Regions from separate parts of the Homo sapiens genome. Here region 1 is linked to region 2. The links are contacts of gene promoters, found by promoter capture Hi-C in human tissues and cell types (Jung and others, 2019). All regions are on one chromosome and are shown on one strand. Each heading gives the region's core, a stretch centred on a gene start or on the middle of the fragment in contact. The rest is flanking DNA. Distances are from core to core; before and after follow the strand shown.

Evidence for each region. Contacts are between HindIII fragments. The study calls those that stand out against the background at their distance.
Region 1: a contact is called between a fragment that was not itself captured here and the fragment with the promoter of STXBP3 in region 2, in 2 of the 25 tissues and cell types used here (aorta and hippocampus).

What each region holds. Positions count from the first base shown.
Region 1 is chr1:108,813,430-108,816,736 of GRCh38, reverse strand. It overlaps AKNAD1 (AKNA domain containing 1), which reads left to right. Exons shown (of 16, transcript NM_152763.5): 16 at 435-836. The coding sequence ends at 566. LOC105378891 (a long non-coding RNA gene) reads right to left here and starts at 3,147. Exons shown (of 5, transcript XR_947687.3): 1 at 3,095-3,147. The HindIII fragment of the contact is 4,821 bases long and covers 1-3,307 here.
Region 2 is chr1:108,744,637-108,748,044 of GRCh38, reverse strand. STXBP3 (syntaxin binding protein 3) reads right to left here and starts at 1,371. Exons shown (of 19, transcript NM_007269.4): 1 at 1,259-1,371. The coding sequence starts at 1,307. RefSeq lists a silencer at 870-989 and enhancers at 1,190-1,599, 1,122-1,692. The HindIII fragment of the contact is 8,912 bases long and covers 1-3,408 here.

The DNA of each region.
Region 1 (3,307 bases), core at 310-2,809, 69 kb before region 2:
CCAACAGTTTCCTATTTCAAATCACTAACTCGAATCCCCAGGCCACTTTCAAATGTTTCCATACGCATGCGCTGTATCCCTGAATACCCTCTCAGTGGTTATGGCCCCCCAATCCCCATCAATGGCCTCTAAGAGCTGTTCTTTTTTTCTCTTTCTCTGCGGCAGGGAAACAGCCCAGCTGGCGGCTGACCTCACCCTCTGATTCATGCTCATCAGTCACGTGCTGGTCTTTTTTTCAATCCCTTTCCCTAACAAATATATTCCATCTCAGACTGGTCTCCTAGGAAACCAACCCTCAAAAACAGAAATAGACCAAGAGGAAAACAGGAATACTCCCCAAATTCCACCTTGTAATGTTTAATAATGAGAGAACCCAAAGAACAGAAACAGCAGTTAGTTTATGTAATTAAAATGTGTGGACTTTTCCTCTGTAGATTTTAAACTCGGCTTTGGATCATGCCCTAAGGACAGCAACCATTTTGAAAGAAACTACAGATCAAATGATTAAAACGATTGCAGAAGACCTTGCTAAAGCACAGAGGTGGAGGAATCGACTGAAATACTAGTTCAACGCTAGGCTACCAAGGATTCAAAAGAAAAAAATGCAAAGAAAACTTGATCTTCCCCCAAAATGTATTTTACTTACTACACAATTTAGGAAGATGACTTTCTAGAGAAAACACAGAAACCATAAGAAATGGGTAACACAAAGTACTTAAAGGAAAAAGAAAAAAGAAAGGACTTCTGATTCTTAAAATCAAAAGCAACCAACAAGTATTTATTTTAAAATAAATCTATGTTCTTCTTAACTCATAATAAAAGAAATCAAAACAAAACAATGAATTTCCTTTTATCTATTAGTCTGAAAAAAGATTAAAGTTTGAAGAAACCCTGTGTCAGTGAGGATGGAGGGAAACTGGTACTCTCATATGCTGTTGGCAGAAATGCAACCTTTTTGGAAGACTATTTGGTAATATCTACCAAGTTCCACAAATTCCAAATCATGTACCTTCAGAGCAGCAATTCCACTTCTAGGAATTTCTTTTACATATAAGCCACACAATGTGGCATGATATATGTACAGGGAAGGGCACTGGAGCACTGATGGTAACAACCCCAAGGGGGAACTAATCTAAATACCCCCTGTGATGATTCATAAATGACAATACTTTGTGGCCACCGAAAAGAATGAGGTTGGATTATCTGCAAAAGTCAGTGAAAGAAGCAAGATGCCTAAGCATATATATAGAGAGTTGTAACCTCTGGGGTCTTTCTATGTTGCCCAGGCTGGACTTGAACTTCAAGCAATCCTCCCGCCTTAGCCTACTGAGTGGCTGGGACTACAGGCACACACCAATGTGCCTGGCTCTTCATTTGTGTATTTTTTTTAAAAGGGCATACGTATTTTCAGGAAAGATACCTAAAAATCTGAAGTGAACCTCTAGTAAAGGAAACTGGGAGTTTTGGGGGAGAAAGGGGTTTTTACCTTCTTTTCTGTACTATATGAAATTCTCACAATATACTTATAAGTCAAAATTATTTGTTTAAAGATCGCTTGAAGTCAGAAATATGTGAAAATAATAGCCTTAATGAAATTTTGGAAAAGACAATTCATTAAAACTGTGTACCAGAGATTAAGTACATTTTCATGCAGACCAGAGCAGGCTTTTTTTTTTTTCCTTCCAGATCAAGCTTTTGCTTTCCTTCTTTAAGAGTGATTTATTACCTCCTTAGTGACAGCACAGCAGGGTATTGGCTCTTTCCCCCTTCCCTGAAACTTCTGATTTTCATTCACCCTAGACATTCAACAAATGGTTTCCCAACTCCCAGAGTTTGGCTCAGTGGTCAGGAGGGAGTTGAATCTATTCCCACTTTAGATTTTCGTGCCAATGTGAGCAGCTGGTATTCGTCTAGCTGGCTGGAGAATGGACTGTTTTTAACTTTGGGGTTTGTAAATTGGTTTAGGGTGCCCTGGAAGAGATAATGCACAGGTCAGTCTGAAAATACCTCTGACTTTATGGCCAAATTTACTTCAGGCTGTGGCACTGTAAGGAAGATAGCAAGGAACCATGGCTGGTATTAGAAAAAACAGAGCTTAAACTGTGTATGTTCTATTAAATAAAACTTATGGGAGGTCATTTTTTTGGACTAAGCTCCTACAGGGGACCCCAACAGACCAGACCAAACTAGAATGGAGTCACTCATGCTAGGTGCCACGTAATCAAACTGAACTTTAAAATAGGTCAGTTTAAAAGAAAAAAAAAAGACCCAGAACATTCACAGTATCCCATTAGAAGGGGCCCCGTCAACCTGAGCTGGCATAAGGAAGTCCCCTCTGCTTTAACCCATATAAAGACACCTTTTGTTCCTTGTTTCCATTTTCTTCTGTTTTTTTCTGCCTATAAAGCCCACTCCTGTGCTCAGCCTTTCTATTTCATAGATAGGATGCTGCCTGATTCATAAATTGCTAATAAAAGCCAATTAGGTCATTAGACTTAATTTGTTGACATTTTGGTTTTTGGCAGTTCCAAGAGGCTTCCAGTATCATCACATATCTAAATTTAATCACAACTTGCTAATCTGTTTTGTATGTTAGTACCACTATCTCATCCCCAAGTTTAAAATCATATACTTCTCTGGCTTGAAGTGTTCTTATATGATTCATTAGTTCTTAACCTTTTTTGGGCTCATTTTTTGGGAATCTGGTGAAAGCTATGGAGTCTCCCTTCCCCCATGCTCTGCCTTCTCGTGGAAAAGAATACATTCATTTTTAAAAGTTCGTGGACACCATGAAACAAATCCATGGAACCTTGGTTAGAAACGTCTACCATTAACGAATATTTCTAAATCCCTCAAATTAACATTTATAGAAATTGGTAATTATAATCATTTTTGATTTAAAAATATGGCCCATTTCTGCTTTATCAAACCATATTCTAAATGTAATTTTCCATTTCCTTGAAGATTAGGGGTCATTATGAGCAATCACTGCAACACGACTAATCTAAGAAATAGCAAAAAAGGGCAGGCAATGCCCTTAAGGAGTTCCACAAAGACACTAGGCTCTGATTTACAAGGATAATTTTATACTTACTGATCCTGTAGTCTTGGCCATCTCCTCCCTCATGCAATTCTTGTGTCAATTCTAATGACCTCTCTTCTAATTCTGTTCGAGTAATAAACCAGAAAAACAAGCTTGTGAAGTAAAAGTAATGGTACCCCTAATGCTGGCATCAAGGGACTCAGCATTGCCTGAGGGCTGTAAAGAAACACCTGGCAGTCTCCAGGGTGCACAGGCCTCTCAGTA
Region 2 (3,408 bases), core at 122-2,621:
AAGGGAAAAGCTTATGATTCAATATGTAAAGAACTGGCTTAAATACATACATGCGGATGTTAATCACATATATATCTTGGAAATTATACAACACAATTTGTTACCCATTTTCACATAAATGTATTTAAATACCATTGTTTTAAAACATCTCAAATCTTAAGTCAGCCATGTAAATCTTGAAAAAGCAAATGCCAACCTTAAAATTATCTAATCTTTTAAAAGATAATTTCATATTTTTCACCTATTTATACATTTGCTTAGTGCCTGCTATATGTTAAGCACTATCCCAGTTACTGATTTGGATTTTTAATTTTAGACAAGGAACTCTAACTCCCAGAATTCTGCTGACTAAATCATTTGTTTTTTGTTCAACAAGTTGGACTAAGAAATACTAATTAGATGCTACTCCCTTTCCACTACTAGGCCATAATTATCTTGAACTCAGAGATACCAAACAATGATGGTTATTCCTGTTGGGTGGTTTCATTCTTTCTCTAACCTGCCAGACCTAGGTTTGGAGCGATGTTTATGAAAGTTGTGGATGATACCGCAGAACATCAGTAACCAATAAGGAGTCCGGTCCTAACAGCAGGGAGGGGCCCCCGAGAGTAGGGAAAACGGAAGGAGCGGCTCTTGCCCAGGCTATGCAGGAAGATGTCACGGCTGGACACCGGTCATTCCAATGGTCTCTTCTCAAGAACTTTTCAGAAAGTAGGCTCCTCTCGGAATAGGGGAAGATGAGTCTGTTAAACAGTGAGGTTTTTTGAAAAGCACGGGTTGATACTAACACGAATAAGCAGAATAAACAGTCCTTGCAAACTCCAGTGTGGGGTGGAGATGGGGGCGGAATAAACAGCGCCCGAATTGTCTCGGATGGAGAGACATCCCCAACTGGTGGAGCGCGGACGGGAGCGGAGAAGAGTGGGGAGCGCGGCCGAGGGCACGCACGGGCTCCGCGGGAGGGAAAGCCGGGCCGGGCGGCTCACCCGGGGCGGAGCTTCGCGGCCAGAGCGCGGCCGAGGCGAGGGGGTGCCCGACGCCAACGAGAAGGCCGCGTCCCGTCGCACCCCGCCCATCCCTGGTGCTGGCAAGGAATAAGGCAGGGCAGGAAAGCAGGAAGAAGTCCTCACACAGGTCCCAAAGCAACAAGTGCTCGCGGCGGCTCCTCAACAGACCGCTGGGTTGGGGCTGCAAAACGAGGCCCGGCACGGCAGCCTCCCGGCCTTCCCTCTCTCAACCCCTACCCCACCGCACTCACTCTGCCACACGACGCTCTTTAGCCCCCTCTCTGCCACCGGCGGCGCCATCTTCCCGACACTGCGGAGCAGCAGCCACCACCTTCCACTCCCAACCTACTTTGGCCGCAGAAGCGGCGTTGGGGTGGCCCCGCCCCTTGCTGCAGGGGAATGCCCCACCCCCTCTAGCAGACCGCGCCCTCCGGTGACGTCACGCGCGTCAGCAAGGGAATTTCCGCCCACTCCCGGACGGAGGCTGCGCAGTACAGGTGGAACCTCCGTGGGAAGTCGGGAGCCCCCTAGCGGGAGGCTGCTGTCGCCCGAGGTTCGACGTCCTGTGGCCTAGGAACGCGAAGTGCCAAACCGATCGTGAGCCAAGGCCGTCTATGAAATTCCGAGTTCACACATACACGAAGACTGGAGGATCCTCCCCATTACAGAAGAACCCTTCACTTCGCAAGGCGATTCATAATAGACTTCACTCAGTAGCCAGCCCAACTACCCAATGGAAAATGTACTGTCCCCAAATGATTATTTCATTCATTTTTTCAAGGACACAGTAATTGCGTAGAACTGTGAGGTTCCCTCCAGTGTGCCAAGAACTGTGCTGGACTTTTAGGAAACTCAAAGAAATGAGAGATCAACTCTTTCCCCTGAATAATTTACAATCTAATTAAAGAGCACAATTCCTGGAATGCTGCAGGTAGTTAAAACTTAGTTTAAAAATTGAATGCCTTAATGATAAGATATACATAAATGAACCAACAAAAGAATAATCATTTATTAACAAATTTATGCAACAAATGTAGGGAGGGCCTGTTAATGCTTCAGAATCTACAATTATTGTTGAAAGTTGATTCACAGAGGAGGAGATCTGAGCTCAGAAAGTTTAGGTAGAGATCTGTTTACTGAGATGGTTCCTTTGGGACTTTAAATCAAAGTAATCAAACGTAAGTGAGATCAGTTTAGTTGCTAAGAGCCCTAACTGTGAGATAACCATGTGACATTGGCAGAAAGTAGGCTTTCCTAGAAGGATTTGCAAAGAACCAGTGGCTGTAAAGATTCAAATTGGTCACACAGGGAAGTAGAAGTGGTTAGATACTACTACTAATAATAATGTCTAATATTTACTGAGTGCTTACTTACCATATGCCAGGCACCATGCTAAGTAGATTACCTCACTGATCCTCAAAGCAACACTTACAACAAGGAAACTGAGGCTTAATGAAGTCAAGTAACTTGCCAAGGATGCACTTAGTGGTGGAGTGGGAACAAAGATCAGGCTTGGGCTACATGGAAAGCAATAGAGTAGTCTGTGGGGTAACCTGCAATTTTTAGGAGAGGAAAGGCAAATGAAGAATTAAGAACAGGCTGGGCATGGTGGCTCACACCTGTAATCCCAGCACTTTGGGAGGCCTAGGCAGGAGGACTGATAGAGGCCAGGAGTTTAAGACCAGCCTGGGCAACATAGCAAGACTGCTGTCTCCACCAAAAAAAAAAAAAAAATTAATAAAAAAGTTAGCTGGGCATGATGGCGCATGCTACCTGCAAGCTGAGGAGTCGTAGCTACTTGCGAGGCTGACGTAGGACGACTGCTTGAGCCTGGGAGTTCCAGGCTGCAGTGAGCTATGATCATGCAACTGTACTCCAGTTTGGGGAACAGAATGAGACCCTGTATCTAACAATAAAAAAGGCCATAAAATGGGTTCTGGCACAACCTATGGCTGAGTGGTTTTTCTGTTCAAGGCTTATATGAGAATAGAAGCTGGAGCCCTGACCTCCTTTAAACCTACTCTAAATTGATTCAGTTGCTCAATGTTTTAAACAAGTGCACATATGATTTCCCTCTCCCTTTTCATTTTAAGTTAGGTTCTGCTTAGTTTAGCAGGGTGAAGCCCCAATCCATAAGAAAAATATGTGCCAGGGAAAATTCACCCTTCTGAGGTGAAGCCCCTTGCTCTGAAGAGCCAAACCAAGAGGGAAGAGTGAGATGGGTGAGGTGCCTCCATCTCTTACCCTTCAGGAGAATGACCAGGTGCCAGGGAATAATACAGGTCCCTCTGGGTTGGAAGTTTGACTCTGGTCACATGGGGTGCAGTTCTGGCTCATGCTCCTGAAGGCCAGAGTCCTTGGTGGCACTGCGGAATAGTGGAGCAAGCATGGTCTTTAACTG